Regions from separate parts of the Homo sapiens genome. Here region 1 is linked to region 2. Evidence: promoter capture Hi-C in human tissues and cell types (Jung and others, 2019). All regions are on one chromosome and are shown on one strand. Each heading gives the region's core, a stretch centred on a gene start or on the middle of the fragment in contact. The rest is flanking DNA. Distances are from core to core; before and after follow the strand shown.

Region 1 (3,403 bases), core at 385-2,884, 500 kb before region 2:
CCCTTCAACTTTGTGAGTGATGCGCTTCCACTGGCAAGAACTACAAGGACCACAAGAACAGAGTACTTGGCTTTCATCAAGCTGGCTATTGCTAATTATAGATACCATTTATGGGGGCAATTACTGTGTGTGAGCATTGTACTTGATGATTTCTACATATTGTAAATTTAACCTATGAAATCCCATGAAGAATAAGGCAACTAACTTGTTCAAATTAACAAAGCTAGTAAAAAGAGGAGCCAAGGTTTAATCCATATGTTATTTAAAGGTAAAAGATGTTAAACTTCATTACTTATTTTGCTTGGGAAAGGAGGACATTTTCCAACCTAACCTATGCCCAATGTAAGTAAAAGTATATATTTATAATCATAGCTGAAAGGAGCTTTATTTTTTATTAGCAAGAAGCTAGTTTTGTTATCTCCTAGCATCAGTGATGACTGCTGTATCCAGCCAGTTACAGTCATAGTTTATATTCCCTTACGTTTGTTTGGAGTAAAATAAGATGACAGAATTTGAAAATGTTTTTTCTCCAATCTTCAAAATACCAGGTAAACAAAAATAAAACATTTTCATTTTTTCCTCTTTCTTATTAACTATCCTTCCCTCTTGCCTGCCCTTTTCACTTTGCCCCCTCAAATCCAACCAACAGCAATTCCAAACTCTTTCCTCCCATGTAGTTCTCAAAATTATCTACTTTTATATTTCCCACTGTGACTATCTCAGTCTGCGCCAGGGAACAGACTTAGAATCAAACTCCCTGGGTTGGAATTGCAGTTCTACCACTTACCAGCGTGTGACTTCAATCAAATAATTCAGCCTCTCTGTGCTCCATTTTTAATCTGCAATTTGGAAATGATAGTACATAGTTCACAGAGTTATAAAGATAACAGAATGTATAAAAGTACTTAGAATAGGGCAGGGCATGACACATATAAACTGCCATCGTTCTTACCTTATTGTAAAAGGTCTAAGAAACATGGTCTCATTAAATTAACTAATTTGGTAGTTAATTTTACATGTCAACTTGACTAAGCTAAGGGATGTCCAGATAGCTGGCAAAACATTTTTTCTGGGTGTATCTGTGGTGTTTCCAGAAGATATTAGCATTTGAACTTGTGGACTGAGTAAAGCAGATGGCCCTCTACAATGTACATGGGCATTATCCAGTCATTCAAGGGCCTGAATATAAGAAAAAGGCAGAGGAAGGGCAAATTTTCTCTTTCTTCTTGAGCTGGGACATCATCTTCTCCTGCCCTTGGTCGTTGGAGCTCCTGGTTCTTGGACCTTTGGACTCCAAGATTTACACAAGCACATCCCACCTCCACCACCAACCCCAGTTCTCCCTTCAGACCTGGACTGAATTATACCACCAGCTTTCTCCATTTGTAGATGGCAGATCATGGGACTTCTTGGCCTCCTAATCACATGAGCCAATAATCGTATACATATGATTATTTTCATATATATTATATATATACCTATATAGGGAGACAGAGAGAATATATATACTTTATGTTTAAAATTTGTTTCTAGTATTTTCTTCTTGATTTCTGTTATTCCATTCCTTCTCATGCTGCCTCCTCCCCATCACAACAGGCACCATGTATCCTATGACTATGGAGAATACCTCATTTTCTGCACTAACCTAGCCCTATGACTCCCCAAACCTGATGCAATGCTCCTCCTTGATTTTAGTGTTAATAGCAGTTTGTGTCCTGAATCTTCCCTGATGACCATCCTCTCCCTATTCCATAAAATAACACCTACCAGTTCTGATCCTTCCTTCCTCAGATCCTCAATAGCTGATAACAGTTAATACGAAATAATCATTCATTCATAAAGGAAATATTATTTGCTGAACTCACACGAAGTGCCAGGCGCTGTGCTAGGTGTCAGAGATAGGACAGTGAAGAAGACAGAGATCATGACCCCAAGGAACTTCCATTCCGCTGAGGGAAATCAGTGAACCAGTGATTTGGATATGGTGTGTAGGGACTCTAACTGGGGTAAGGATGGGAACCTATGGGAGCAAAGGGGACAGCCTCAAAGAGGTGAAACTAGAGATTGAAGACCATGAGAGATGGCAGGAGGGGCATTTTTGGAAGTGCAAATCCCAAGGCTTGATACCCAGGAAAAGGCAAACAGGGCCCTTCAAGCTGAAGCAGCTGCAAATGACCAAAAGACCTCCCTTGTGTTGCCTTCAAGAATGATGGCCTCAGCATGGAGGTGCAGACAGAGAAAGTTCTAACCTCCTATTTCTGTGTCCTTGCTGATGGAAAATTCCACAGGAAACAGGACAAAATGAAACACATGCTTCTGTGAGACTTGAGAAAGGTCTGGAGAAGGGGAGTTCCTCTACTCGAGGAAAGCTTCACATCCCCCTCCTGCCAGCAGCAACCTCTGGCAGCATTTGGGTGGCTGCACCTCCTGCACCTCATTAGAGAACATTATGCTCTTCCTGGTAATTAAGGGCAGGGGCTGTAACATTCATCAGATTGAGTTTCATATCCTGGCCTCTCACTTGCTGGATTGTGGCCTTGAATAAATCATCCAACCTCTTAGAGAAAAGCCTTCCTTTCCTTACCTGTGAGTCCAAGGACAATCCTACTTGCATTTATATGAGTGATTGGCACAGTGCTTGGCATGTCGGAAGTGATAACGAAAGGTGGCAATATTCGATTCTCCAAGTAAAGCTTATCAATAGTCCACTATCAGCACAATCTGTGCTGTGACTAGCAAAGTTTTGTCTAAACAAAGATGCAGAACTGGGCACTATATGATAGCACAATAGCATGACTATAGTCAATAATAACTTATTTGTGTATTTTAAAATAAAATAAGGTAATTAGATTGTTTGTAACTCGAAGGATAAATGCTTGCTGGGACAAATACCCCCATTCTCCATGATGTGCTTATTTTACATTGCATGCCTGTATCAAACATCTCATGTACTTCATAAATGTATACACCTACTATGTACCCACAACATTTTTAAGTCTAATATTAAAAAATTAAAATAAAGAAAATCAAGGAAGTAAACATGCAGAACCCTTTTTATATTTGCCAATTTGGAAATATGAGAATGATAAGTTCAAAACCATCTATTGCTGAATGGATGACAGATTTTAACGCAGTGAGGAATTTAGTGATACTGAAATATTCGTGTATTATTCAACTTAAGTGTTTTATGTACCTTTGAAAAGTAATCATCTCTGTGCCCTTTTCATGTATGTATCTCAGCTCACTGCATTCCTAGTCCACAGTGGAGATGAGCCAATTTGCAACTTTCTCTGTCTGGCACTGTTCTCCCAGGTCATTTCAGGACTGACTTGAAGGGATAGCAAAAGGGCTGTAGCAAGGGTTGTGCTTTTTCTTTAGGCCTCAGTGTGTGGCACCTCTGTCT
Region 2 (3,101 bases), core at 497-2,996:
AGTATGCTGCAAAGCTGTGTGCCATGGGCAGAAGAGTGAAAGGGGACAGCACCTGTGAGCCTCACGGAAGGGCTGGCCATGGTTTGACCAGCAACTTGAATATTGCTGGCCTGACCGTTCTTGCACAGCACATGTTCACCTTCTAGTCCTTACCCTTTTGTTTAGTAAAGGCTTTTTGGTGGGTTTCATCTTACCTCTTGCTAAAAAGAAAGAGGGCTTTGGGTCCATGTGGGGGCTCTGAGCTTTTATTGGAGAACGGTGTGGCCCTGGAGCTGGCATGGTGGTTCAAATGGTCACCCCTGTGTGATGACTACAGGGAGGAAAGTGGTGAGGGCCACTGTTCAGGTAGCCACACATCTGGACATTCCCTGGACAGTACTGAAGCCTGGAGGTTCAATGTTTTATTTTCACAGAAGAGCTGCTTACCTTAAGAGCATGCTGGACACCCCCTATCCCCTAGACACCCAGGCATGAAACTAAGGAGTCATCTACTCAAACTGTCATCCGAGGTGTCTTTCCTTGAAATAAATACTCAAAAGAAAATAGTGCTACTCTCAAGAACAGCACAGTCCCATAAAACTATTGGTGATGACAGAATGTTCTGTATTTGTGCTGTTCAATATGGTAGCCACTAGCCACAGAGGGTAAATGGACACCTTTTGAAGATGCCACAGCGACAGGCATCATTCACTTTTTTTAGTCTTTTCTTCAAATGGTGTCCATTTACCCTCTGCTCTCTCCTGCAGTCACAGAGGTCATTGTCCCCAGTAGATTGTCACCTGCTTGTACCTGTGCCTGCATTCTCTCCACCTTGACTGCCTTCTGTTTTCCCATCTACCTGCTCATCTCCCACCTGCCCCCATTAGTTTATGTACCCTCCTACCTCAAGAAGCTTTTATTTCTATTTTACATGAAAGTAAAATAGAGCACTTGAACGTAAAATCCTCCAACTGGTGCTGAAGGACTGGTGGCCAGGTTATTTGATATATATGGAATGTCCACTTAGCCTTGCCTTAATTTTCTGACAAAATATAAGACCATTACAAATTCTGGCTTTGTCTTCTAACTTCAGCTTAACTTATTACAAAATAATATTCATGGGAAAAAAAGTGATATCTCACCACTAGATTAATTTTAATCATCTTAAATGATGGATCCTACAGTTTTGGGGCCATTCTGCTGAAATGGAGGACAGTACTGCCACCCAGAAAATGATGTCAGCTCAAGCCTGATCTTTCCTATTCACTCTTTGAAAACTCTAGAGGGTCAAGGGCAACAAGCTTCTTAGAAGGGGCAGTATTGTACTAAGCTTCCTGACCCTCCGCCTTTCAGAAGTCCTGCCTGTGTTTCGTGTGGGGGACCAGCTTCATTGCCCCTGAGCTTGGACCGCACTCCCCAGTCTGGGAATTCGCAGGGCTAAGCGTTCCAGGCCACTGATTGGCTTGCTGTGGATCTGCTAGCAGGAACCTCTGCACACGTGTGAGCACCACTGTCACCCCTTGGGCCACCTCGTGCCAGTCTCTAAGGCTGGGTGGCGGGGCACTGTGACACCAGGGGTGACCAGAGAGCGGCGGCAGCTCACAATGATCAAATGATCGTGAAGAGGGACACCTGCGAACCAAGGCGCCACGGCAGGTGCTGCCCATAGGCACCGCAGGAGGGGATAAAGGGCGAGACCCCCGCCTTCACCACAGTTTTCTCAGCCTGCAGGGAGGGAGGACGTGCGAGGCCGGTGCGTGGAGGCTATGGGCCTGCTGGCCAGTGCTGGTTTGTTGCTGTTGCTGGTCATCGGCCACCCCAGAAGCCTAGGTGAGCCTAGGGACCTGGGCACCAGGACTGCGGAGGAGGCTGAGCGTGCTGGAGAGGGAAGACTTCATTACTCCTTGCCTCAGGAAGTCGGGGTGGTATAGCCACACCTGAGGCATTTGGGAAGAAAGGGTGAGGGGGTGGTGCATGCTCAGATGTCCCCAAAGGAAGGTCTGGGCCAGACTGCCTTTTTGAAATTTTTTGCATTTTAGAGTTCGTTTGTAGGCACACCTGCTAATCATGTGTGTACTAAGGAGCCTCCTCCAAGGAAACCTAACCAAGTAGAAGTAACTTAAAGACAAATATCTCCCTTCCGGAGTAGTATAGGTCATTCCTCAGTATCTTTTGTTTTGTTTGTTTGTTTGAGACAGGGTCTGGCTCTGTCACCCAGGCTGGACTGCAGTGATGCGATCACGGCTCCCTCAAACTCCAGGGCTAATGTGATCCTCCTGCCTCTGCCTCCTGAGTAGCTGGGACCATAGGCACGTACCACCACACTTGGCTAATTTTTACATTTTTTTGTAGAGATGGGGTCTTGTCATGTTGCCCATGGTTCTGACCTCCTGGGTTCAAGTGATCAGCCTACCTGGGCCTCCCAAAGTGCTGGGATTACAGGCGGGAACCACTGCATGTGGCTCCTGGTATCTTTAACACAACCTAAATTTGCATCTTCCCAGAGTAAGCCCCAAGTCACCTACCAGAGGCAGCGCTGGCTCCTTCCTGCCCAGTGGTAACACAGGCTGAAAGGGAGCAGACAGGAGGCAAATTCCGGTCAACCCAGGTGACTGTGGGATATTCTGAAGAAAATATTGAGAGAAGAATGTGGTAGTCTGCAGCTAAGTGCTATCAGAATGTCTGTGCCAGGCCAGGAAAATCCAAATGGGAAATCTTGGTAAAGTGAACTCTTACATAAGGCTCTGTGTGTGCACACACACATGCTCTTCTACACAGGACTGAAGTGTGGAATTCGCATGGTCAACATGAAAAGTAAGGAACCTGCCGTGGGATCTAGATTCTTCTCTAGAATTAGTAGTTGGAGAAATTCAACAGTGACTGGACATCCATGGCAGGTCAGTGCAACAAAGGCATTGATTTCTTAATGAGAAAACAGTGAAATATTTCCTTTGTTTCGAAAGCAAGAATGCACGTTGATATGTAGTTTTTCTCCTGAACCCCTCTAGCTCTCTACCAAAAAGTTTACTTCGTAGGAACTATCTTACTATCCAATTTATGTCGGTATTTTAAGAATATTATGTCAGATTAGAAAAGTTGATCTCCAGTGTTTCCGATGGAGA

Evidence for each region. The method cuts DNA at HindIII sites, captures the fragments that hold promoters and counts their contacts. A contact is called where the count stands out against the background at its distance.
Region 1: a contact is called between a fragment that was not itself captured here and the fragment with the promoter of OVCH1 in region 2, in 2 of the 25 tissues and cell types used here (IMR-90 fibroblasts and heart left ventricle).

Annotation. Positions count from the first base shown.
Region 1 is chr12:29,997,119-30,000,521 of GRCh38, reverse strand. The region is part of intron 3 of LOC105369715 (a long non-coding RNA gene); the gene reads left to right. Among named protein-coding and RNA genes, the nearest start is that of TMTC1, 210 kb to the right of the region's middle. The HindIII fragment of the contact is 5,873 bases long and covers 1-3,403 here.
Region 2 is chr12:29,496,331-29,499,431 of GRCh38, reverse strand. OVCH1 (ovochymase 1) reads left to right here and starts at 1,746. Exons shown (of 26, transcript NM_001353179.2): 1 at 1,746-1,809; 2 at 2,758-2,876. The coding sequence starts at 1,746. The HindIII fragment of the contact is 2,638 bases long and covers 1,087-3,101 here.